Regions from separate parts of the Homo sapiens genome. Here all the other regions are linked to region 2. Evidence: promoter capture Hi-C in 16 types of primary human blood cells and fetal thymus (Javierre and others, 2016). All regions are on one chromosome and are shown on one strand. Each heading gives the region's core, a stretch centred on a gene start or on the middle of the fragment in contact. The rest is flanking DNA. Distances are from core to core; before and after follow the strand shown.

Region 1 (2,852 bases), core at 91-2,590, 190 kb after region 2:
GAGCCCACATGCAGGCTTATTTTATAAAATGTGCTAAAATTCATAAAAACATTGCCTAGTCCAAGTTTACGCCATTATTATGCTAAAGCTTACTAGATAGCAATGATAATAGCAGTCTTACTGAAGCCTAGCAAAGTTTGAAGAAATTTGTACGCATCTGCATACTGTAAGGAAAATAATAGCTACAGCCCCATCTTATAAATTAGGAAGCTAGGTTCAGAGAGGCTAAGAACTGTGACCAGAGACATACAGCCAACAGTAATTATGGATTAGAGCATAAAACTCAAAATAAAACAATGTCTAAACTTGAATTTTAATTATTTAGAGTGCTCAAAATGCTACATTATAATCATTAAAAATACTGAGTTATAAGCATAGTTACATCAAAACTATTAAACTTTCACCATAATTGTTTGCCTTTAATCTCATGAAACTTAAGTGAACAAGCAAAAAAATTGTCAAAGTAGATTATCTTTGTTAAAGATAGACTACTGGGCCAGGTGATGTACCTCACACCTGTAATCCCATACTTTGTGGGGCTGAGGTGGCGGATAGCTTAAGCCCAGGAATTCAAGACCAGCCTGGGCAACATGGTGAAACCCTGTCTCTTCTAAAAATACAAAAATTAGCTGGGTGTGGTGGTGCACGCCTGTAGTGCCAGCTGCTGTGGAGGCTGAGGTGGGAAGATTGCTTGAGTCCCAGGAGGCAGAGGTTGCAGTGAGCCAAGATCAGGCCTCTGCACTCCAGCCTGGGCACAGAGTCAGGTCCTATCTCAAAAAAAAAAAAAAAAAAAAAGACTACTGAACATCCTCACATTTTAGAAATTACTATAACTATTTGTCATAGTTTAGGATCCTGCAGCACAGCCTACAGACATCATAAAATAATCAGTTGCAAAACCAGACTTCTGCTTTTTGTGTCTACTCTCATCTTGCACCCAAACTGTGAGTCACTTTGATTGAGCTTCATAAACATAAAAGCAAATTATTTACTAATATATTTATCTGCAGTCTCCATCTCTTAATTTAGTATTGTTTCCTGGACTTTTAAGACTGTCATAAATGTTTGTGGTTTTTCAGGTGGTTGAAGTGAATGGAGTCATTGTAAAACGCTTTCAATCAGCTGACCAATGCTTTATATAACATAAACCTACTTTATCATCCTCTCCTAAAGAAGAGAAGATTTAGCTAGAATAATTATTAACAGAAGATGTGGAGATACAGAAGAAACTAGAAAATATCTCACAATCAATACATCTTTCAAGCAGTCAATCATTTGTCACTCATATTGCTTTTTTAAACCCAGCTTTACATGGAAGGAATAAATGGAACTCCAGTTTGGTTTTTCTTCTTTTTTTTTTTTTCTGTTAAGGCAGATTTAAAATTTTTTTTGGTTTACTTTTCATTGAATTTTGTCAGTTCTTGGTCGAATGTATGTATGTGTGTGGTTTTTAAAGAGGTCATGCCTGTTTCTTTTTTTTAACGAACTAGAAGTATGTATTATAGCATGTTAGAATTGAAAGGGACCCCAAAGATGATCTAGTTCAGCCTTCCCATTTGACAGTTGAGGAAACACTTTGTTTGGCATTTCTTTACTTTAAGGAAAGTTGGGGCACTGCCAAAATCAACACTGCCTGCTTTGAGTTTTCACTGCTTGTCGGACAAACCTTAGGTTGGGGGATTGGGGGATATATACAAACAGGGACTAAAACAAGCAACATCATGCCGTCAGCCATCAATCTGGTTGTTGTCTTATTCTTCCCCAAAATAATTTCAAGTCAACTATAGACACAAACACTTGAAATGTATTAATTTATTTATTAAATAAAAATGGCTGATATTTTGCTTACTAAAAATCTGATTATTTCTTTGGCTCCTGGTTAGATGAGCAAGTCAAATGTTAACAACCTGAGTACCATCGTCTATAACAAAACAGTGAATCAGCACCCTCTAGCACATTTCTGAGTCACTACTTTTTAAAAAAACCTTTTAAAAAATGTAACTGAAACTAAAATATTCTAAACACTGTGCTGGGTTTTTCATACTATCTCATTTTTAATTCTCATAAAATTGCACAACATAGCTTGAGACAGCTCTGTAAGTAGATAAAGATAATATACAATGTAGTGAGGTCTACTTCGTGTGTGGAAAGAGAGTTGTGGTCAGAGAGCAGCTGACTCTACTGAGGGAAGCAATGATGAATGAGAAGAGGCCCTGGATCCCTGGGAGCTCCCACCATAGTAGGAGAGACAGATCCCTGGAAAGGAATGTTGCAATAGGCATGTCAAGAACTATTGCACAGTTATTTCTTTTTAAATGGTGTGAGAGCAAAAAAAATAGAAATGCTAACTCTGGGGGTTTTGAAGATGACTTGAATGAAGAAGTTACATCAGACTGAGTATTAAAGGAAGAGAGTAGTTTGCCAGGTGAAAAACAGAAATGTCATTTAAGGAAGAAAGAAAAACAAGTGAGAAGGCATGGTATTGAGGAAGACTGTGATGTGTATGCACAGGAAAAGTAAGGGGGTCAGTGGTGCTGGAAACCGGGGTGCATGGGATGAAGTGGGGTGGAGATGTGTGGAGCAAGTCTGGGACAAGCTTCTGTGCCAATGTAGGGATATGGAAGTTGTCCTCTGGAAAACTGGAAGTATTGGAGGTTTTCAGTTGGAAAATAATGTAATTGGATTGCTGTCTTTCTCTTGCCATAAAAATTAAGAAATATAATCCTTAATGAGGAAAAAATACTAAAACATTAAAACAGATATAGTGTATAAAGCATAATTGTAAACACCTCTGTAACATATAACATTGTGAAAACCCTTCATCTCCTCCCCAGTCATATGTCATGGAAGCC
Region 2 (3,169 bases), core at 323-2,822:
CGCTTGGCATAGAAGCCGTAGAAGGCCATGCACTTGAAACATGTTAACACAATGCAGAAAAGCATGAAGGCCCAGAGGAAGAATGGCACAGGCAGGTAAGCCAACAATCTTGCAACCGATTACTGAAGATTTAGAACCAAAGGAAAAGATAATCCACAGTATGAAGAGAAAGCAGATGGAAGACTGCATGCTGTTGGCCAAGCATAGGTCCAAGAGGAGGTGGTAAGGAAACTTGTGCAGAAGCTTCTCACAGGACAGAGATTAGCCAGACTGGAACCTGAAGGATCTGGCGCTCTCCACTGGCTGCCTTGGTGGGCCTCGAATTCCTCTACGGGGCCCTTCACCCATCAGGTAGTATTGTAGGGGATTGGGCCACAGTTCTCCTTTGATAATCTCTGCAATTCTGTCGAATTCTAGAAGGCTGTGGTCTGAAAACCAGTTGAAGAAACTAGGGATAGTGTTCCCTTCCCGGTTTCTGTGGATATGAGCCTGGGGGTCTTGGCCTCGGTGCCAGCGGATTGGAGTGGAAAGAGACACCACCCGGCCAGAGGATCTGCGTTCATATTCCTTGACAAGCCCCTCATTTCGGAAGTAGGGGTTGCCCTGAAAGATGAACTTGAATTTGCAGCCTGCTCTGGGGTGTTTAAGCTCCTCCACCTCCAAATTGATCATGTACCTCAGCATGTCTTCATCTTGGCCACTGATCATAGGTGACAGCTGGGGGTGGTTTCGAAAGGCAGTAACCCAGAAACCTGGGATATTCTGGATAATGAAACTTCTGCGCTGCATGTGGAGCCTTCGCATGCGGCCAAACTTGCGCTCAAGCTGAAGGAAGGCCCTGTCAGCCTGGGCATTTACGTTTGACAACTCTTGATCGATGGCCTCCAGTGAGTCCATGCAGTTATTGATCTTCGGGGCCCTGGGCCGTGTCTCCTCTTTCACCCCTCCTGCCACCTTTTTTTCCTTCTGCACTACCTTCTTTTCCTCCATCGCCGCCCCTGCTTCTCCCTCCTTTTCCACTGCTGCCGAGATGGCGCGTTTTTTAGTCGTCACTTCCTTGGCCTTCTTCCCCGGTATCATCTGAGACCCCAAGCCCCCTGCGCCACAGGCTTCTAGAGCCTTCTGCCCAGCAGGGCCACGGGGCTCTCCAAGCTGACAGCCATTTTTCTGGCTGCTGTCAGCAGCCTCGGCGGCAGAGGCTGCTTCCAGACCTTTCGTAGAAGGTGGAGCATCCTCCTGCCCGGCTTTGGTCGCTGCACCGCCGCGACTCCCGGCAACTGGGACGCGGAGCGCGGGGCCACAGTCGACAGGATCCTGGGATGCACCCCCCTCCGCAACGGTCTCCAGGCTGCCCCCACCTGTGTTCGCCATCACCTGTGTCGCCTCGGTTTCTTCACGGAGCCCTTGGCACTGGTCTCGGTCCGGATCTCCTGAGGCATGGTCGGGAGCAGCCAGGCCGCCGGTTTGGGCGAGAGGGAGCTTGTTGCCCCCATCCAGGCCGCTCATTTTGGAAGAAGTCAGACTAGTGGGAGAGGGAGAGTTCCTTGTCCTCCGCAGCGGCCGAGCTCTGCCCGAAACGTCTAGCACCACCCCTCCTTTACTCTCGGCGGTGCTACCATGGCAACTGGTGATGTCAGGGCGGTAGCGTCGTAACATCGCGCGAGAACTCTCTGCGCGGTTGACTACGCTTATCAATCCATCGTATTCCTTTGTCTTCTTGTCACAAAAAGAATTTCGTCAGTCTGGAAGGGGAGTTTTACTTACGTAAATGGATGTAGACCAGACTCAAGCATGTAAGAACTGTGTTAATGTGGATTTCTAAGCCTCTGAATGAATTTCTAAGGCACCTAACCTATTGTTTCTGAAAATATTTACTTTAAGGTGAGTTACTGTCTATTCAAGTCAGTTCATAGGGCTTCTCCTGAGTAGGAAAGTGGATTCACGAACTCACAGGCCTTCCTTCTTTTAAGGTGTGGATTCATGGCTATTACCAAAGAATTTAAATGAGCAGAGTTTGATTTTAAAGAGAAGTGTTGCTGTGTTGTTATTTTTAAAATTAAGGAGCAGCTGAAAGGCAAACTTCTCTCATCCTAACAAGACATAATAAAGGAATATTTCAATTTGTCTTACAGATTTTAAAGTTTATATAATTTGGCCAACATCTACAAAACAAGTGGACAATATTTCCTCTTCACTTTTAACAAAGAGTAGCAAAATGTTTTTCCTTACGTAGAGGTGACTGGCACACGAGCACAAATTTAGGCTTTTAAGCATTACTGAAAGAAATATCTCAGGGGATTTTAATTTCTAAACTGATGCATATGTTCTTTTCCTCAGGTTACAATCTTAATCTAAAAGTGGTTCCTGCTTCATAATGCCTGTGGACATGAAGCTAACAAATCTTTTCAAAATGTGTTCATGTGGTAATTCACTGCAGCACAGGAGCAATAATCAGCTATGTGCAGGCATCTATGCTACTGTCTCTTAAAATACTTTAAAAGTAAGGTTAGTTATTGTCTATTCGAGTCAGTTAGCTCTTACAATTCATTTGATAGTGATTATCAGTACAATATATTAGTTTGTTGGAGTGTGAGAATAATGGTGTTAATCCTTAGAAAAATGCAAGACCAAAGGGAAATTTAAATTTTGCATATTTATGTTTAATGTCAAATTTATATTCAAATAAACGGTTATGATTATAACTCTTTGTAAAAGAAACTCCATTTTAAGCCCCCCAGATTATGATCACTTTCAAATACAGGCTCAGAAGTACAGATTTAGAGAAAAAGGATTCCTCTTAGAGGAATACATCATATATACTGAGACTTCTAGCGAGGGAAGGAGTGTAGTTCTGGTTCAACTAAGATAAAGTACTGATGAAAGGTCACTGGCAGACAATACGGAGAAACAGCCTGCCTTGCAGGATTTTTTGTATGCCTAGTCAGCCTACCCAAGGACAATGTGTCCAGAATGACCTCTTTACTGCCTGCCAGCTAATCAGTTATCCCATAAGAAATATGCAAACAAGATTCACACAGCAGAGAGCAATTATTTTTCTCTCCCTCTTTCCTCTTTGTCTTAATAAACGCTCTTTTTTTATTTGTGGGGTGAAATCAATCTATTGAGGTATCGTCTTTGTAAACACATAAACAGCGTGCTATAATTGACT
Region 3 (2,972 bases), core at 100-2,599, 240 kb after region 2:
TGGGGAACAAAGACTTTGGGCCAAGGGACTTTTGATGGTTGGGTTAGGAGAGAAAGAAGAGGAAGGTGTAGACAGGTAGGAGAATACCCCAAGGCCTGGAATATTTTCAGGATAGCTAGTTGGGTGCTAATTTAAGAGGGAGGGCCTTAGGCATGAATATCTTGGGTTCCTGGGAGGAATGCATATATTATAAATGAGAAAGAGGCAACTGAGCAGAAGATGGAAAAAATCCTAAAAAGAAGCTTTAGGATAGAGTGTAGGCAAGAATTCTTATGGAGGCATCAGTTTAAAATACATGACATTGTGATACTCCTTCTAATGTCAGATATCTTCTTCCAGATTCTATTCCTGGTCTTCTGTGGAGCAGGTTTGAAGGTTCTTCCATCGATGCCTCAGCTGTGTGCCAATGACCCTATTTCCTTTATGCCTATTGCAATGTCCTTTTTAAGAGACAGTTGACTAAGTGGAGAACAAACAATTTCCCTGCAGTGTTCTAAAGTCCAAAAATGTAGAATTTCAGTGGTCATTTATATCGTTTAAACTGTACCCATTGGTACAGTTTTAGACATTTATTGCATCCTGATTTTAAAGGGGTGGGGAAAGAGAGAGAGAGAGAGAGACAGAGAGAGAGAGAGAGATTATGTGCCTTGCCCAGGATCAGTCACTACTCAGGATCAGCTGAAGCCCCTAGAAACAGAACTGGACAGGGACTCAGAACAGGCTCCTGAATCCTAATTGACGTCTATCACGAACATATCACTTATACCAGTTTTATTTATTTTGATTATTTTTTAATTTTTATTTTTTTGTGGGTACATAGTAGCTATATTTATTTATGGGGTACATGAGATATTTTCATACAGGCATACAATACATAACAATCACATCGGGTAAATGGGGTATCCATTACCTCAAGCATTTATCTTTTCTGTCACAAACAATCCATTTTTATCTTAATTACTATTAAATGTACAAAAAATTATTATCAACTGTACTTACCCTGTTGCACTGTCAAATACTTGATCTTATTCATTCTTGTACATTTTTTTTTTAAGACAGGGTCTCACTCTGTTGCCCGGATTGGAGGGCAGTGGCACAATCATGGCTCACTGCAGCCTCAACCTCCTGGCCTTAATCAATCCTCCCACTTCAGCCTCCTGAGTAGCTGGGACCACAGGTATGCACTATACATACATATATATATATATATATATTTTTTTTTTTTTTTTTTTTTTTTTGTAGAGACAGGGGTCTATGTTACCCAAGCTGGTCTCAAACTCCTGAGCTCAAGCAATCCTCCCACTTTGGCATCCCAAAGTGCAGAGATTACAGGCTTGTGCCACCATGCCCGACCCAGATCTTATTCATTCTATCTAACTATATTTTTGTACCCATTAACCATCTCCACTCCTCTTGAAACTACCCTTCCCAGCCTCTGATATCCATCATTTTACTCCATATCTCCATGAGTCCACTGTTTTAATTTTTAGCTCCTACAAATAAATGAGAACATGCAAAGTCTGTCTTTCTGTCCTGACATATTTCATTGAACATAATGACCTCTAGTTCCATCCATGTTTTGCAAATGACAGGATCTCATTCTTCTTTATGGCTGAATAGTACTCCATTGTGTATATGTACCATATTTTCTTTATTTCATTAATCTATTGAAGGACACTTAGATTTCTTCCAAATCTTAGCTATCGTCAGTAGTTCTGCAGTAAACATGGGAGTGCAGATATCTCTTTGATATACTGATTTCCTTTATTTTGGGTATATATCCAGCAGTGGGATTGCTGGATCATATGATCATTCTATTTTTTGTTTTTTGAGGAACCTCCAAACCGTTCTCCATAGTGGTTATACTAATTTACATTCCCACCAACAGTGTACCAGAGTTCCCTCTTCTCCACATCTTTGCAAGCATTCACTATTGCCTGTTTTGGATAAAAGCCATTTTTAACTAGGGTGAGATAATATCTCATTATAGTTTTGATTTGCATTTCTCTGATGACCAATGATGTTGAGCACCTTTTCATATACCTGTTTGCCATTTGTATGTGTATGTCTTCTTTTGAGAAATGTCTATTCAGATCTTTTGCCCATCTTTAATTGGATTATTAATTTTAATTTTTTCCTATGGAGTTGGTTGAACTCCTTATATATTCTGGTTATTAATAGCACAAGGGTGTCAGATACATAGTTTACAAATATTTTCTCCAATTCCGTAGGGTGGTATCACACTAATTATAACTTGTACTTGCAATTTGGGCTCTCTGCAGAGCCCAGTAGATTCTGGGCTGCCTTGTAGGCCGCCCTTGTGTGCCAGTGGTCTGGTGAAGATTACTGTGTATTTAATTCGGTACACTTGAATTTTAAATGTGTTCTGGTCACAAAGAAAACATCCTTTGGAAGATTTTTTAGAGGATGAAAATGATAGTAGAAATTCTGAATTAATAAGCTTTGGGGTAAGAAAGTAATTTCAAAGAATATTATTTATCCTTTATTTTAGAAGTTTCCTGGCCTGACCATCAAGCAATATTTCATGAGAAAAGGAAGGAATTTGGTTGATGCCAGCTATATTAAAACTAAATAAATTAAAATTAAATGTTATTTATAAATGTTTCAAAATTATCATTGAATAAATAGCTTGACTTGGTGATTACAAATCAAGGGTAGCGTCAGAAGGCTAAAGCTATAAGCCAAGCTAATACATGAGAAAAATCAAATCATATTTTTTTAGAAATATGGAATTATTTATTTAAGGAATGCAATATACAGTATCTAGAAACTACTGTCTATATATAGGAAACTCTATGCTATATCATTTCATTCTTTTTTTTTCAGCAAAGAGACAAATACACAACTGTTTGTATTTGTGCTGCTTTTTTTTCCCATTACCATACGTGAATGGAATGAACAGCTTCTCTGAGGATGGATAGTGTAAGATGTGGAATTCCTGCCTGCTATCT

What was found. The method cuts DNA at HindIII sites, captures the fragments that hold promoters and counts their contacts. A CHiCAGO score of 5 or more calls a contact.
Region 1: a contact is called between a fragment that was not itself captured here and the fragment with the promoter of TSPYL4 in region 2, in 2 of 17 cell types (total B cells and monocytes). The highest score is 6.4, in total B cells.
Region 3: a fragment that was not itself captured here is called in contact with the fragment with the promoter of TSPYL4 in region 2 in 1 of 17 cell types (total B cells); the score reaches 5.2 in total B cells.

What each region holds. Positions count from the first base shown.
Region 1 is chr6:116,445,620-116,448,471 of GRCh38, forward strand. No RefSeq gene overlaps it. Among named protein-coding and RNA genes, the nearest start is that of CALHM6, 14 kb to the right of the region's middle. The HindIII fragment of the contact is 2,508 bases long and covers 87-2,594 here.
Region 2 is chr6:116,252,503-116,255,671 of GRCh38, forward strand. TSPYL4 (TSPY like 4) reads right to left here and starts at 1,573. Exons shown (of 1, transcript NM_021648.5): 1 at 1-1,573. The coding sequence starts at 1,506. The coding sequence ends at 262. It also overlaps a transcript of DSE not described here. RefSeq lists enhancers at 1,145-1,304, 1,715-1,944. The HindIII fragment of the contact is 9,221 bases long and covers 242-3,169 here.
Region 3 is chr6:116,493,749-116,496,720 of GRCh38, forward strand. It overlaps TRAPPC3L (trafficking protein particle complex subunit 3L), which reads right to left. Exons shown (of 5, transcript NM_001139444.3): 5 at 1,241-2,972. Among named protein-coding and RNA genes, the nearest start is that of CALHM5, 16 kb to the right of the region's middle. The HindIII fragment of the contact is 2,219 bases long and covers 241-2,459 here.